Regions from separate parts of the Homo sapiens genome. Here region 2 is linked to region 1. The links are contacts of gene promoters, found by promoter capture Hi-C in human tissues and cell types (Jung and others, 2019). All regions are on one chromosome and are shown on one strand. Each heading gives the region's core, a stretch centred on a gene start or on the middle of the fragment in contact. The rest is flanking DNA. Distances are from core to core; before and after follow the strand shown. Region 1 holds the start of REPS1 (RALBP1 associated Eps domain containing 1). Region 2 holds the start of LOC107986650 (a long non-coding RNA gene).

Evidence for each region. Contacts are between HindIII fragments. The study calls those that stand out against the background at their distance.
Region 2: a fragment that was not itself captured here is called in contact with the fragment with the promoter of REPS1 in region 1 in 4 of the 25 tissues and cell types used here (H1 embryonic stem cells, IMR-90 fibroblasts, aorta and 1 more).

The regions. Positions count from the first base shown.
Region 1 is chr6:138,983,579-138,991,418 of GRCh38, reverse strand. REPS1 (RALBP1 associated Eps domain containing 1) reads left to right here and starts at 3,166. Exons shown (of 20, transcript NM_001286611.2): 1 at 3,166-3,889. The coding sequence starts at 3,737. RefSeq lists silencers at 2,935-3,174, 3,365-3,664. The HindIII fragment of the contact is 5,323 bases long and covers 1,530-6,852 here.
Region 2 is chr6:138,891,049-138,898,888 of GRCh38, reverse strand. All of the region lies in intron 20 of ECT2L (epithelial cell transforming 2 like), which reads right to left. It overlaps LOC107986650 (a long non-coding RNA gene), which reads left to right and starts at 3,259. Exons shown (of 2, transcript XR_001744381.2): 1 at 3,259-3,535. The HindIII fragment of the contact is 3,079 bases long and covers 2,764-5,842 here.

The sequences.
Region 1 (7,840 bases), core at 1,917-4,416:
TATGGTCCATCTAAAATGCAGGCTGGCGTCATCTCGCCTGTGGCCAGGCTGCAGATTATCTATCTTGAGGCAATCTTTAAGTGGGGGACAATTCTGCAGCTGGGCCTTTGTGCCTAGTTCATTTTAAATTAGCCCCTGGAATTTTTAAGAAGCATACAGTTAGATAAATGTGCATTGGGTAAGGGAGTACATTGTGGGAAATAGAAGGGAGTGGAGTTTCAAAGTATGTTTCAAGGCTATATTTTAAGACTAAAGAGAAAAGGTTTCTACAGTTTGTTTCAAGGTTACAGCTTGAGACTGGCAAGAAAGGAGAAAAGAAAAAAGTTTTCTTTTGAAGCTAAACTACTTGGTTAGAATACCTTGTTTTGCTTAAAATTAGTTTCCACGGACCTATCCACAATAACATTAATTGAGGACTTACTGTATTGAATGGCTTATCACATCAATGTCAAAATTGATGCTTTCATTCATTCAACAAATTATTATTGATACACATTATGTGTCACATACTGGGCTTTGGCACTGTGGCAATGAAGAAATATTTTCCTTCTTTTCTTGCTTGCTTGCTTTCTTTCTCTCTCTCTTTCTTCTTCTTCTTCTTTTTTTTTTTTTTTTTGATACAGAGTCTCGTCCTGTCTCCCAGGTTGGAGTGCAGTGGCACAATCACTGCTCGCTGCAGCCTCTATCTCCTGGGCTCCAGTGATCCTCCCACCTCAGCCTCCCGAGTAGTTGGGACCACAGGTGCACACCATCATGCCTGGCTATTTTTGTATTTTTGGTGGAGATGGTGTTTCACCGTGTTACCCAGCCTGGTCTTGAACTCCTTAGCTCAAGCAATCCACCCACCTCAGCCTCCCAAAGTGCTGGGATTACAGGCATAAGCCACCATGCCTGGTGAAGAAATATTTTCTTAATAACAAACTTAACAAAGAAATTAGACAGGCAAGATAGGGTAGTGATTTTTAGAGTTGAGACAGCCTGGAGTTTGAATCCCAGATCCGGGTATTTAATAGCAACATGACTTACACAATACTTAACCCATTTTGCCTCAGTTTCCTAATCTGTCAAAAAAAAAAAAAAACCTAGTAGTACCACTTAATAGGGTTGTTGTGAATAATGTGGTTATTAGTGTAAAGCTTTAGAACAATGCCTGAAACTTAGTAATTATTCAATAATTAGCCGTTAAAAATGTAACAGCTATATATGTAATGTCAGATAGTGAAAAGTGTTATAAAGAAAAAGAATTCAGGTTGGGTGCAGTGGCTCATGCCTGTAATCCCAGCGCTTTGGGAGGCTGAGGTGGGTGAGCCCAAGAGTTTGAGACCAGCCTGGGTAACATGGCAAAACTCTGTCTCTACAAAAGCCACATACACAAAATTTAGGTGGGCATGGTGGCCTGGGCCTGTGGTCCCAGCTACCTGGGAGGCTGAGGTGGGAGAATCACCTGAGCCTGGGAGGTCGAAGCTACAGTGAGCCAAGATTATGCCACTGCACTCCAGCCTGGGTGACAGTGGGAGACTCTGTCTCAAAAGAGAAAAAAAAGGAATTCAGATAAGGGGATAGTGCATGGTGGGATTATTTTACAGCAGCTGTTGCAGGAAGGCTGCTCTGAGGAGGTGACATATGAGCAGGGACCTGAAACCATATGAGAGAATACGCCATGCCATGGTTTGTGGAAGGACTATTTTAGATGGCAGGAACAAAGGCCCTGGGGCCGACAAGAGCTGCAAGGCCTAGGAGAGGTGGCAGAGAAAAAGATGCAAAGACAATTGTGAGCCAATCCCTACCCCATTGTGCTCTTTCTGTTTACACCTTTGGAAGGCAGCTGTCTGGGGGGGGTCTGATCACTTGCTGCAGGTGCCCTGAAAGGACACATGAGGGGCTGCTGTAGCAAACTGAAAGTCTTAGAGATGGGAAATAAGCTTAATGGATAGTATATACTTACCTTTATCAAATACTACTAGTCAAGTCAGAAGACATTGACAGGTCTAAAATCCCTTATCTTTCTTAAAAAATAGAAAGATAATAGAATGCCTGTGACTGTGTACATATTAACATTCTACAAAGACCTGGAGTGAAATGAGTAAATATTGACACTAAGTGGGATCCATAAAGGCTAGAAATAGCTTCATGCAAGCTTAGTTTAGATTTTGCCTCCAAATGAGGCAGGGCAGGTTTTACTTCCAAAGGGTTACAAAAAAAAGTCTTTGGGTTTTCAGTGCGCTTTGAATTTTGCAATTACAGATAAATGACTGGGAACCTGTAATAATTTCCTCATATGTGTCATTTATAGGATCCGCACTCTGGGAAACAACTTGTAGAAGACAAAATAAAAACCAGAACTCTGGGTAATTCTGCCTTAGCTCCCGTCTTTGAAGTATTTTATATTTGCTAAGTATAAATTCTTAAGATATTCTACTTGAAATAGCTGAAGAATCCCCTCTCTGGGACAGGTGCAGATTAAAAGAGCGCCACTCCATGATTTTCATAAAGGAGAAAATACGGAAGGCAGCCCCTGTGGGCAGCCCCGGGCCTACATGAGTTGATAGAGTTGAAGGTATAAATGTAGAGTATTAAGTTCCCAGTGACCGGAATGACCTGGTGAACAAAGAGGACAACTTTGCCAGTTTTCCCCTCTATTCAGCACATTTTGTTTCTCAGGTAAACATGGCTTGAAGCACGAGTGAGATGAAGCCTCAATGTTGGTGTCTACGTGGAGGCTTCCCGGATAGCCAGGATGTTCATAGCCCGGATGTTCATAGCCCTTCAGAACAGATGGAAATACTGCATTTATCTTCATCTGTACCGAAAAGGTACAGATAGAATGATAATAACCTGAACAAGGCTCCCCTTTCAATCCAATTATTCAGACGCTTAGGACCAGAAACTGCGAAACATAAAAACTGCAACCCGGATCTTAGTTATCTCGGTCTTAATGAGCTGCCGGCTGTTTCCCACTGCACCCCCCTTTCCGGGGGTCTTGCTGCTGAGATCTCCGCGCAGAGGGCGGCTCGGTCATCCCGCCGCCGGGCGCCGGCCACCAGGGGGCGCTGCGGCCTCCTCCCTCTCCCGGGAGCGGCCAAGCCAGCCCGGTGGGTGTTTCTCTCTCCCTCTCGCGCTCTCTCCTCCCGGCCTCACATCCGGGTCTGGAGCGCGGCCGCCGCTGTCACTGTTGGTGCGGGCGCGTCGGGGCCGGGCCGGGGCACTGTAAATGGCGGCGGAGGGAGGCGGAGCGGCGGCCACGCTCAGCCCAGATCCCCCGAAACTTTAGGTTCGAAGCCCCACAACTTTCCGGGAAGCGCTGCCGCTCCGGAGGCGTGGACGGAAGGGGAAGCCGAGGCGGGAAGTCTGGGGGAATCGGCAGGGAGCCGGGGAGACTCGAACCCGCGGCGGGGGCGGAGTCCGCCAGTGCCTCGCGCCTCCGCGGCCCCCGCCTCTTTCTCTGCACCCTCCCCGCGGCCGGAGCCGGAGCCGGAGCCGGAGCCGTAGTCGCAGCCGCAGCCGCAGCCGCGCGCCGGGCCTCGCAGGCAGCGGCGCGGCGAGCGCAGCCGGGCCCCCTCCTCGCGACCTCCGGGCCCTGTTGCTCGGGCGCACCTGGCGCGTGTGAGGCCGGGGCCGGCGTTTTCGGGAAGCTAGCAGGAGGCCGGGCCACGCGCAGCCCCTGCCGGCCCAGGTTCCTGGGGCCGGGCCCCGAGTAGTGCATGCGGGGCGGGGCGGCCGTGAGCCGGAGGCGAAGATGGAAGGCTTAACGCTGAGCGATGCGGAGCAGAAATACTATTCAGATCTCTTCTCCTACTGCGACATTGAGAGCACCAAGAAGGTGGTGGTCAACGGGCGGGTGCTGGAGCTGTTCCGGGCCGCGCAGCTGCCGAACGACGTGGTCCTACAGGTAACGTCGCGTCCCGGGGCCGGCGGGCGGCTTAGGCCTGCAGTCACTGGCCTCCAGGAGTGGGAGTGGGCGCCGATTCCTTGGGGCCCGGCGGGGGGCTGGTTCCTCGGGGGGTCCCCGCAGCGGGCAGGGGCCGCAGGTGCCCGGGAGGCCTGGACTCGCGCCGCGGCCAAGGGGGAGGGGGTTGCCCTTAGAGGACGGAACTCCTGTGGTGGGGGTCTGAAGAGCCTCAGCCGGTATCCCCCACGACCCTGAGAATCTGTGCTCTGTACTGCAAGAGCTATCTCACTTGAAGGATCTTAGGTTGTTAATGTGTGTGAATCCTAGAACCTGGCATATAGAGAGCTTTTCGGATCCTGCAGAGTAGTAAAGTTATCAGTATGGGCAAAATGGTTTTTTTAATTCTTGGATTAACCGAGAAGACGTGATAAAGTGAGTTCTATAGATTTAGGAATCGAAGAAGCAGTTTTTTTAAAGGAAGCAAAATTCTTAGGGAAATTTTTTAAAATGTGAACTACTTAGTAGTTTTACAAGTAGGCATACAAGAAGTTGTAATTATCTGTAGAACGTGTGTATGTGATGAGACTGAACAATGTTTTTCAACAGGCATTCGAAAGCATTTGTGGAACTTGTGGATTTGGGTTGGGAGATGAGTATTGAACAGCTGGTAGGCAGAAGTGCGTTATTTGCCCTAATCTGAAGCCCTGGAGGAGCAAACCCTGTAGGTTTAAAGCCTTTTTTTATCATATCTGCTTTTGAAACAGAGGACTTCCTAGAAGTTCTTATCTAATGTATGTGGTGAGCATTAATGCTACTCTGTTTAATGATTCATAGCTGCTAGTAGGAGTCTGTCTAAACAGTATGTTAGGAACAGGTTTTAAGCTTTCATCTTTTATATTGATCCAAGCTAGTTATCCACATCTCCAAAATTTAAAGCCACATGTATAGGTGTATGTAGTGGACTGCAAAGCATTGGACCAGGGTTTTGAAGGCTGGGTCCTTGACCCTACTCTGCTGTTAACCAGCAGTGTGACTTTGGGTCAGGCACTTTCCATTTTCAAGCATAAGTATGTTCATCCACAGAATGAAGGCAAGTTTCTTCCAACAAAAATTCTGTGAAGAATAAAAATGTCCACACACAGGTCTCTGTTTTAGAAGTTAAGTCTGCATTAACTATGACTAAGTTGAACGAGTTCGATCTTTTTAAATGGTCTTGTGTTTTACATTGCTTTTTTAAAGGTGGGATGTCTTACGTGCCAGTGAAGGGCAACGAGGAGTCCCAAATTCATCCTGTTGAAAAGGGACAAATAGTAAATATTTTGGGCTTTGCTGGCCACATATGCTCTCTGTTGCATATTCTTCTTCTTGTGTTTACAAAACACAAAAATGTAAAGCCATTCTTAGCTCAGGGAGATACAAAACAAAGCCTGTGGTCTGCTAACGAAGGGTGCTGGTAGTGTGGTCTATGGTACTCTCCTGTTACAGCTTTGGAGTAGGACTTAGAGATCTGGTCAGAACATGCTCATTAATCATACTCTTTTTGCTCCTTTTGAAGAAATAACAAAGTATACCTTCAAGTTAGGATCTAAATAAAATTAAGGAAAAGCCTTCTCTGTTCTATTTTAGTTTGTCTTTGAGGTGAGAAAGAGTTGAAATAAAACTTTCAATCTTTTTAATGGGTACACAAAGACTTTAGAACTTGAAATGTAATTTTTAGGACAGACACATTAGCATTAATGAATCTTTACTTCAAACATGTTTAATTCAGTGCAAGTTATTTTTATGTTTTGCTCAATTTTATTAACATTCAAAAAATAAATTTCCATTGTCTTTTGGCATAAAGAGAGAGCTTAAATATTCAGGGTTCAGTTACAAGTTGGAACTCCCTGGAGCAGAACTCTTACAGTTATGTATACTAAATAGCAGTCTAGATATCTTGAAGGCAATTTACTTAAAAATTGGTCTAAGACATAGAAATATGAGACAAAAGGAGAATATGTGCTTAATTCCCTTAAGGGAGTTTGGGATTGTCTGAAAACACAGTCCTCCATTGCTTTCTAAGTGGGAAACATTTGGGGCAGCTCATATCTAATGCTTAGTTCTCTACTTAACACTGGGCTAGGCATTGCAGGCATCAGAAGAGGAGTAAGAAGCTCTTGAGGATCTTGTCAATTATAGGAGTGCTCATGTATAACATAAGGTATAATGTATGCCATAGGAGAGGTGCCAAGTGTTATGAAATGCTAAGGAGGTATGACCAAGAAAGGCTTTTTGACTTAATTCAGATGGACTTTAAATTAGGGTGGAGTGAGGGGAATGGAATTATGAGGGCTTCCAGGCAGAGAAAAGTGATCAGAAGTGGAAAGTGTAGGAGCCTTTTCAAGGACTAGTGTTTTCGGGATAACAGAATATAAAATTAGAAAGAGGCCATATTGGGAAAGACTCTGAAGAAGGGCAGCAGATAACGATATTTCAGCAAGCAATGGAGACCCATTGAAAAGTTTTTGACTTTGAGTGGCAGAAAGGGTAAGGAATGACACTCTTTCAGTGGTCTGGATTGGGTGCTAGGTCATGGACATCCAACCAGGGTGACAGCAGTAGAATAGAAAGGGAGAGACTGGATATGTTATTGAAGGACTGCTGGGTAGCCACTATATGAGGTGCTTTGTGGAATAATGTTTAATTGAGGCCAGATTATCAAGGTTGGATGGAGAGCTTTGAACTAATTGTGTAGGTAACAGGGAGTGGTAGATTTAAGAGAAATGACTCATAAAGCAGTGCTTTAGGAGTCGTTTGTCAGGGCCACAGGAATTAGAGGAATAAAACTGTAGACTTAACTTGGGGGCTGATTTTGTATGGCAGATACGAAGTGAGAAACTGGGCCAGTGGTACTCAAACATGGGAATGAAGGTGACAATGGGGAAGAGGCATTTGGCAGTGTCTAGAGACATTTTGATTGTCATAACTAGAGGGGAGAGAGCAGTTCTACTGGCATCTAGTGGGTAGAGGCCAGAAATGTTGCTAAACATCCTGCAGTGCACAGGACAGCCTCCACAAGCATTATGTGCCCAAGATGTCAATAGTGCTGAGACTGAGAAACCCTAACCTGGACTATAGTGGTGGGAGTGGGACAAAAAATCAGATATGGGCCGGGCACAGTGGCTCATGCCTGTAATCCCAGCACTTTGGGAGGCTGAGGCAGGTGGATCACCTGAGGTCAGGAGTTGGAGACCAACCTGGCCAACATGGTGAAACCCTTTCTGTACTAAAAATACAAAATTAGCCGCATGTGGTGGCGCATGCCTGTAATCCCAGCTACTCCAGAGGCTGAGGCAGGAGAATCACTTAGAACCTGGGAGGAGGAGGAGGTTGCAGTGAGCCAAGATCGCGCCACTGCACTCCAGCCTAGATGACAGAGCAAGACGCTGTCTCAAAAAAAAAAAAAAAAAAAGAGAGAGAGAGAGATGGTAGAGATTATGAAGGTAAACGTGATAGGCCTGGGTTATTTGGCAGTGTTTTGGTGAGAATACAGTGGGGCAAGGATTATTCTTTGGACACCACTCACAGTTAGAAAAGGGGCAGGAAGAGGGCTTACTTTTTAAAAGAGACAATGATGAGTTTGGTTTCAGACATTCTTAGATGGCAATTCAGATCTCTTGGAGACAGTGGGAAGTGGGTGGAGATTTGTCCACCCCAACTGCTGGTTCTTACAGCAGTTCAGGTTCAGAGGTTCGGGATTTCTTCCTCTGTTTTGCTCACCTAAGTGTTTAGGGACGGGAGACAGTGTCACATAGACTGGGCATGCACATACATATCAGGACCTTGGTTGGTACAGTAGTTTTCGGTGTTTGTTAGTAAAAGTTAGGAGGAGACTGAGTCATCTGGGGGCATGAGTGTAGAGAACAAATAACACCGAGTCCAGAACCAAACGAGGAAGGAGCTGGCATTTAT
Region 2 (7,840 bases), core at 3,054-5,553, 94 kb after region 1:
AGTATGTATGTATATCAAAAAACGTGATGTTATAGGGATCAGTACTCTGAGGTTTCAGCCATCTACTGGGGGTCTTGAAAGGTATTCTCATGGATAAGGGGGGACTGCTGTGTATATTTTTATCAAAGACCTCCAGGTTGTTCTTCATAAAAGCTGCTATAATTCATATTTATAACTCACTTTATATGGTAATGGCTTTAATTTGCTTCTGATTTACCTGGTGATTTTGTTAAAATGCAAATTCTGATTGAGTAGAGCTAGGGTGGCCTGAGAATTCTGCATTTCTGGCAAGCTCTCTGGTGATGCTGAGTCCACAGATCTGCAGGCCACACTTCAAGGAGCAAGGCACTTCAGTCATTTATTAGTTACAGCTATGCCTAAGAACTGGGCAAAGGACTGGACCAGGTAGTTTAAAAATGTCCAAGAGTACCATGTTTCAGGTTCAGCTACTTGGACAGCGTTAGGAAGTAGGAGTTGTTTTAGGTGTGTGGGTCAATGGAAACATAGTGGTCACCCAGCCACTAGAGCTAGCTCTTTCTTTCAAACATTTTCTTCTTGTCTTTGGTTATGATTTAGGCTGGAAGGAGTGGGGTGCTTCACATTTACTGATACCTTGCAAAAAATATTTCTAGATCGAGTCAATAGGTTATTCTGAGAATAAAGGAATGAATAGAACTAAGGATGAGGGAGAGAGGAAGCAAGAAAGGCAGGAGGTGCATTTTAAGTCTGTGATGGGCAGTCTGTGGTGAGTAGCCATTTTGAATAGGCAAAAGAATTCTACCATGGTCTTGCTTTTTTGGGGGAGAAGGGGAGCAATTTTTTTTTTTTACCATATCCATGATAAGAACAATTATTTCTCCTATCATAGAAGTTTAGAAACTGTTTAAATCTGTAATAAAACTGCTGTATCCGAATTATCAGGAAATATGCCAACAGAGTGCTTTGAAGAAGCAGCATTCAAAGAGGTACTTGCTTTGGTAAATTGATGTTCAGTTTTTTCCTTTGGAAGGGACAATGCCGATATTAGAGGTGAATGAAAGAGAATTCCAGTTTTGTGACCCACTTGGACCAGGTGGATGGTTGGCCCAGGGAAGGGATGGAGCAGCCACACTAACTTGAGCTTAGAATTGAGCCTTTCGTAATCCAAGGACATGAGTGAGGGAAAGAAACACACAATGAGGTTATTATTTCAGTCTGATTCTGAGAGGGCTATTTTATATATAATTTTTATCTAGAAAAACTTTTCAAAAGCCATTTACTAAATTAAGCCCCTCAAGATCTCCAACAATGTTTATCCACAGACCAAACACCAAAAACTCTAAAAGTTTAACCGTAAATACGGTTAAACTAAATACGCAAAAGCAGATACAGTCATCCCTTGATATCCATGGGGAATGTGTTCCAGGACCTCCTGCGAAAACCAAAATCTGAGGATGCTTGGTATTTGCATATAATCTGCATATTCTCTCTAGGTTACTTATGATATCTAATACAATGTAAACACTATGTGAATACTTATACTGTATGAGGTTTTTATTTGTTTTTTTAATTGTATTTATTTATTTTTTAATGTTTTCCATCCTCAGTTGAACCCATGGGTGTGGGGCCTGCAGATATGGCTGTAATTTCATCTTTAGTATTGACATAATGGAGCAGCTGCAGTGGCTCCTAGTGTTTCAGAAATCTGCCTCTGCTCACACTCAGAACCAACTCCAATGGTGGGTTTTGTTCTGAACTTGAATAGAGTTTCTTTGCTTATTTACAGATAGATTCAGTGATTCAGCAAAATGGAACACAGCTACTATAATGTACATTCTTAACTCCATTCTAGAAGTGTTTTGTTATTGTTGTTAAACTACTGTATTAGCCAGCACAAGAGACACAGAGAAAGGCAGGAAGTACCCAACTTGTATAAATACATAAAACTTTAAAAGAAAGTTTTAGGCCAGGTGCGGTGGCTCACACCTGTAATCCCAGCACTTTGGGAGGCCGAGGTGGGCAGATCACAGAGTCAGGAGTTTGAGACTAGCCTGGCCAACATGGCGAAACCCCGTCTCTACTAAAAATACAAAAATGAGCCAGGTGTGGTGGTGCACACCTATAGTCCCAGCTACTTGGGAGGCTGAGGCAGGAGAATCGCTTGAACCCAGGAGGCGGAGGTTGCAGTGAGCCGAGATCACGCCATTGCACTCCAGCCTGGGCAACAAGAATGAAACTCTCTCAAAAAGAGAGTTTCAGTACATGGAGAGTTTCAGTACATGGACAACAGCAGGTCATCAGCACCACTGTGAGCTGACCTGAGTCAAAACTGATTATCACCTAGCCTGGTGGATCACAGTGGCGTTTGGGGTCCCCAAAATGAGTCAATTCTGGACCAAAGTCTAGTATCCTTGAGAAGCCTGGGTACATTTTCTCTGTTGCATAGTTACCCTGCTAAGTGACTGTAGATCCCTTTGGGGAAAGCTAAGAGGAAAGTTTACAGTGTATCTTTTTGGCAGTATAATAGGATATTTCCCCAAGGAAAATTGGCCTGGGAAGTGGATGGCTCTATTTGATGAACAAGGCCAGGCCTCTATTCACCAGTCCTGCACTGGTGAATAGACCTTTGGCAAGACTCCATTGGAAGAAAAAAAGCATGCTTAAAAATCAGTAAGCTTTGGCCACGTGCAGTGGCTCACGCCTGTAATCCCAGTACTTTGGGAGGCCGAGTTGGGAGGATCATCTGAGCCAAGGAATTCAAGACCAGCCTGGCCAGCATGGGAGGACCCCATCTCATTAAGGAAAAAAAAAAAAAAATTCAGCAATGAAAATCAGTGTTTATGAAAAAAACGATAATACAGAAGTTCCAAGGTACAAAATATATTCTAAAAGCTTAACATACCCAAAATAATGGTCCATGTCCTCAGAGGAACAAATTGCCCTCTGAATTTCCCAGCTCTTAAAATAACTGTGTGACTTCATCTCTATTTTAAATTTCATTTAGGATGCAAACACTTACTCGTTCTTTTTGTGTCATAGTTATTGTTTGTTATTTGTGGCCAGGTGCAGTGGCTCACACATGGCCAGGATGGGTGGATCACTTGAGGCCAGGAGTTCAAGATGAGCCTGGCCAACATGGTGAAACCCATCTCTACTAAAAATACAAAAAAATTAGCTGGGAGTGGTGGCACGCCCCTGTACTTCAAGCTTTTTTGGGAGGCTGAGGCATGAGAATCGCTTGAACCCCGGAGGCAGAGGTTGCAGTGAGCCGAGATCACACCACTGCACTCCAGCCTGGGCAACAGAACGAGACTCTGTCTCAGAAAAAGAAAAATATATATATATATGTTTAGTAATTGTTACTATGTTAGTGAGATTATTATGAGGAAGGCTTGGTTCACCTTTCTACCTTCTGGTCCAATCACTGGAAACGGCACTGCCTGTGCACTGGGAGACCTGGTTCTAAATTCCAGACCAGCACTTATTCTATGACTTTAGGCAACTTAAGCCAGATTGCCCACCCATAACGTGGTTCCTGTCCTACCTGCCTCATCAGGTAATTGTAATTAAATCTATCAAATGAGAGAAGCTAACATATATGGTAAAGAGTAAAGCCTTATATGAGTTGGTACTGTATGTATAAATACAAGCAGAGTATGTTTCCTCTAAGTAAAAATTCCTGGTAGAAATCATGGGGATGGCATTCCTTGGGTTTTATGTGATTTTCTAAAATGACAGAAAACAAGGTTGCAGGCTAAGTATTGTGTGATATCTTTTTGCATTTACCTAATTTCAAAACGTTTTTTTTTCCCCTGTAGAGACGGGGTCCAACTATGTTGCCTAGGCTGGTCTAGAACTCCTGGCCTCAAGTGATCCTCCCACCTCAGCTTCCCAAAGTGCTGGGATTACGGGAATGAGCCACCACACCCAGTCAATTTCAAATATTAATTTGAAATTACATTTAAATTTATTAGCAAATAATATAAATGTAATCACTGAGACAGTGTCGTTGACCTAAAAGGAAGAAGCTGAGGCAAAATCAATATAAGTAGAGTTTATTTGGGCTAAGCTTGGGGACTGCAACCCTGGAGCATAGATTCAGTTACCAGGAATATACACCCCAATTAGTAGCATTTACAAGTGGATTTTTAAAGAAAAAGAAGAGGCAGTTCCAGAGTTACCAAGATTTTATACTAAAATAGCACAAGCTATTGATTGACCATAATTGTTCTTTGTCTACAATTTCCAGTATGTGAAGATAATGGGTGAGGCAGCCCAGGAACAATTGCCCTAGGCAAGCATGGATGGGGAGGTGTGACTGAAGTCCCATACTCATGTCTCTGGGCCTGGTAAATTTTTCATACCTCATACCTCATAGCTCAGAGTAGTGCCTATTTAAATATAAATGTACCTCACAATTAGAGCATAAAATGATTTTGGATTATCCTAAATCTTCAAAGTATTTTCATTTGTCCAAGTACTGTAGACCAAAGTCTAATTTCTGATAATTAGACCTCCAGCTTCCAGTCCACATGTAAAGAGCTTGGAAGTTGTAGGCCGGGTGTGGTGGCTCACTCCTGTAATCCCAGCACTTTGGGAGGCTGAGGCGGGTGGGTCACAAGGTCAAGAGATTGAGACCATCCTGGCCAACATGGTGAAACCCCATCTCTACTAAAAATACAAAACTTAGCTGGGTGTGGTGGCGTGTGCCTGTAATCCCAGCTACTTGGGAGGCTGAGGCAGGAGAATCGCTTGAACCTGGGAGGTGGAGGTTGCAGTGAGCTGAGATTGCGCCACTGCACTCCAGCCTGGCAACAGAGTGAGACTCCGTCTCAAAAAAATAATAATTAAAAAGAAAGAGCTTGGAAGTTGGTAATTCTGTCCTCACAACAACAACAAAAAGCTGAAGAACTCAGAATCAACAGCTTTTTTCCGATCCTTTATAGAATTGAAGTTATCACCCCAAAAGCTGGAATGATAGGCTGCTACAGAGAATCAAAGCTTATCAGAAACAGAAATTGCCTGCATGGAGTAGGGATGCTTGAAGGGTATTGGCTTAATTACTAGAGATAAAGTGTGGACTAGCTTTAGCATTTAATAACTCTGGGCTCACACAATGGTGTGAGTTTTGCCTCTAGGAGCCTGCCAGATTCTTGCAATGAAGAGCTAATAAAAATTTCCTTATTCTGGCTGGGTGCGGTGGCTCACGCCTGTAATCACAGCACTTCGGGAGGCCAAGGCAGATGGATCATTTGAGGTCAGGAGTTCGAGACCAGCCTGGCCAACATGGTAAAACCCCGTCTCTACTAAAAATACAAAAATTAGCCGAGCAGTAACAGCGTGCACCTGTAATCCCAGCTACTCAGGAGGCTGAGGCGGGAGAATCCCTTGAGCCTGAGAGGCAGAGGTTGTGGTGAGCCGAGCTCAGGCCACTGCATTCCAGTCTGGGTGAAAGAGTGAGACCTTGTCTCACAAAAAAAAATAAAAATAAAAAAATATATATATATTCTTACATGGTGGAGAGGAGAAAAGTACCATTTTGAAATATGCCCAGAATATTTTGTTCTTAACAAAGGCCTGACCTCAAGGGAAACTTGTACTAGAACCTAACCAACTGGGACTTTACCAGTGCCTAATCAACCTGGGAGAAGGGAAATACCCAACTCCAGCCACCTCTAACCTTACGTCTCATGTTAGAGGTGGGGAAAAAAAAACAAAAAAAAACAAAAAAAAAACAAAAAAAAACTGAGAAGCACTTGTGAAGGTCACAGTCCAGAAGTAACAGACTCAAAATTGATCATAGAACTATAGAATGTTTCTCCTCTGACATCTTAACTACCACAGCAGTAGGGCTCTGGTATAATAATGGGATTACAGCTAAAATAACTGTAAGGCTCAGACCCTATTTAAGAAGGGGTCTCTAAGGAAACCCAAAGATGATAGGGAGAGAAAAGGACACTGGAGAAAACTGTAGCCTCTGATGCCAAGCTGCAACAAACAGTTAATATGACCTAACTCCCAGCCAGGTAAACATAAAACTTCACACTGAAGACCTGTTTAGTTCCTTTTACCTGACACATCGTGTCTGCTATTCAACAAAAAGTTATAAGCGGTGCTGGCTGGGCATGGTGGCTCACTCCTTTAATCCTAGCACTTTGAGAAGCCAAGGTGGGCAGATCACCTAAGGTCAGGAGTTCGAGACCAGCCTAGCCAATGTGGTGAATCCCATCTCTACTAAAAATACAAAAATTAGCCAGACGTGGTGGCACGTGCCTGTAATCCCAGCTACCTAGAAGCCTGAGGCAGGAGAATTGCTGGAACCCAGGAGGCAGAGGCTGCAGTGAGCCTAGATTGCACCACTGCACTCCAGCCTGGGTGACAGAGTGACACACTCTGTTTCAAAAAAATTATAAGGGGTACTAAGAGGCAAAATACACAGACTGAAGAGACAGGGCAAGCATCAAAACTAGGCTCAGATATAGTAGAGATTTTGGAATTATCAGAGCAGAAACTTAAATATGATTAATATGTTAAGGGCTTTAATGGAAAAAGTAGACAACGTGCAAGAACAGACAGGTAATGTAAGAAGAGAGACCAAAACTCTAAGAAAGAAAAGATAATACCAGAAATAAATATAACAGAAATGAATGCCTTTGGTGGGGTCATTAATACACTGGACACAGCTGAGGAAAGAATCAGTGAGCTTGAAGATATGTCAACAGAAGCTTACCAAGCTGAAAAGCAGAAAAAAGACCAGGGACAAAGTAGGGGTATCGGGTAGGGACCACCAGGGGAAAGAACAGAATATCCAAGTAATAGGGACAGTTACAAAAGGCAAATCATATGCATAATGGGAATACCAGATGAAGAGAGACAGAAGAAATATCTGGAGTAATAATGACTGGAGATTTTACAAAATTACTGACAGCAAACCATAGGTCCAGGAAGCTCAGAGAACACAAAACAGGATTTTAAAAAAAGTCTACATCTAGGCATAATACATTCAGATGTAGAAAATAAAAGAGAAAGTCTTCGTCATTTCAGAGAATACAAAAACATAAACCCACCTTACTGTCAACAAAGAGTCAAACTGTGTAAAATAGATTTATTCTGAGCCAAATATGGGTGACCAGGGCCTGAGTCACAGTCTCAAGAAGTCCTGAGAAAATGTGCCCAAGATGGTTGGGTTACAGCTTGATTTTATACATTTTACGGGGATAGAAGTTACAGGCAAACATCAATCAATATATGTAAGGTATACATTCATTTGATCCAGAAAGATGGGACAGCTTGAATTAGGGGCTTCCAGGTCATGGGGGGGATTCAAAAGATTTTTTGATTGGCAATTGGTTGAAAGAGTTAAGTTTATCTAAAGATCTGGAATCAGTAGAAAGGAGTATCTGGCTTTAGATAAGAGATTGTGGAGACCAGTGTTCTTATGTAGATGAAGCCTCCAGGTAGCAGGCTTCAGGGAGAATAGATGGTAAATGTCTCTTATCAGACCTTAAAAGATAACATACTCTCAGCTGAATCTCTCCTGGATCAGGAAAAGACCTGGAAAGAGGAGATTCTCTACAAAACGGAGATTTTCCCCAAAAGAGATGACTTTGCAGGGCCATTTCAAAACATGTCAAATAAATATATTTTGAGGTAAACTATGATTTATTGCAGGGTCTGCTATCTGCCATGTGATACTATACTAGAGTTGGGTTAGAATTTGGTATCTTACTTCTACAAGGAGTTCATTTTATCAGTCTTAAGATCTCTGTTTCAATGTTAATTTTGGTCAGTTGTGCCTGAATTCTTAAGGGAGGAGAGTATAATGAGGCATATCCAATCCCCCCTTCCTATCATGGCCTGA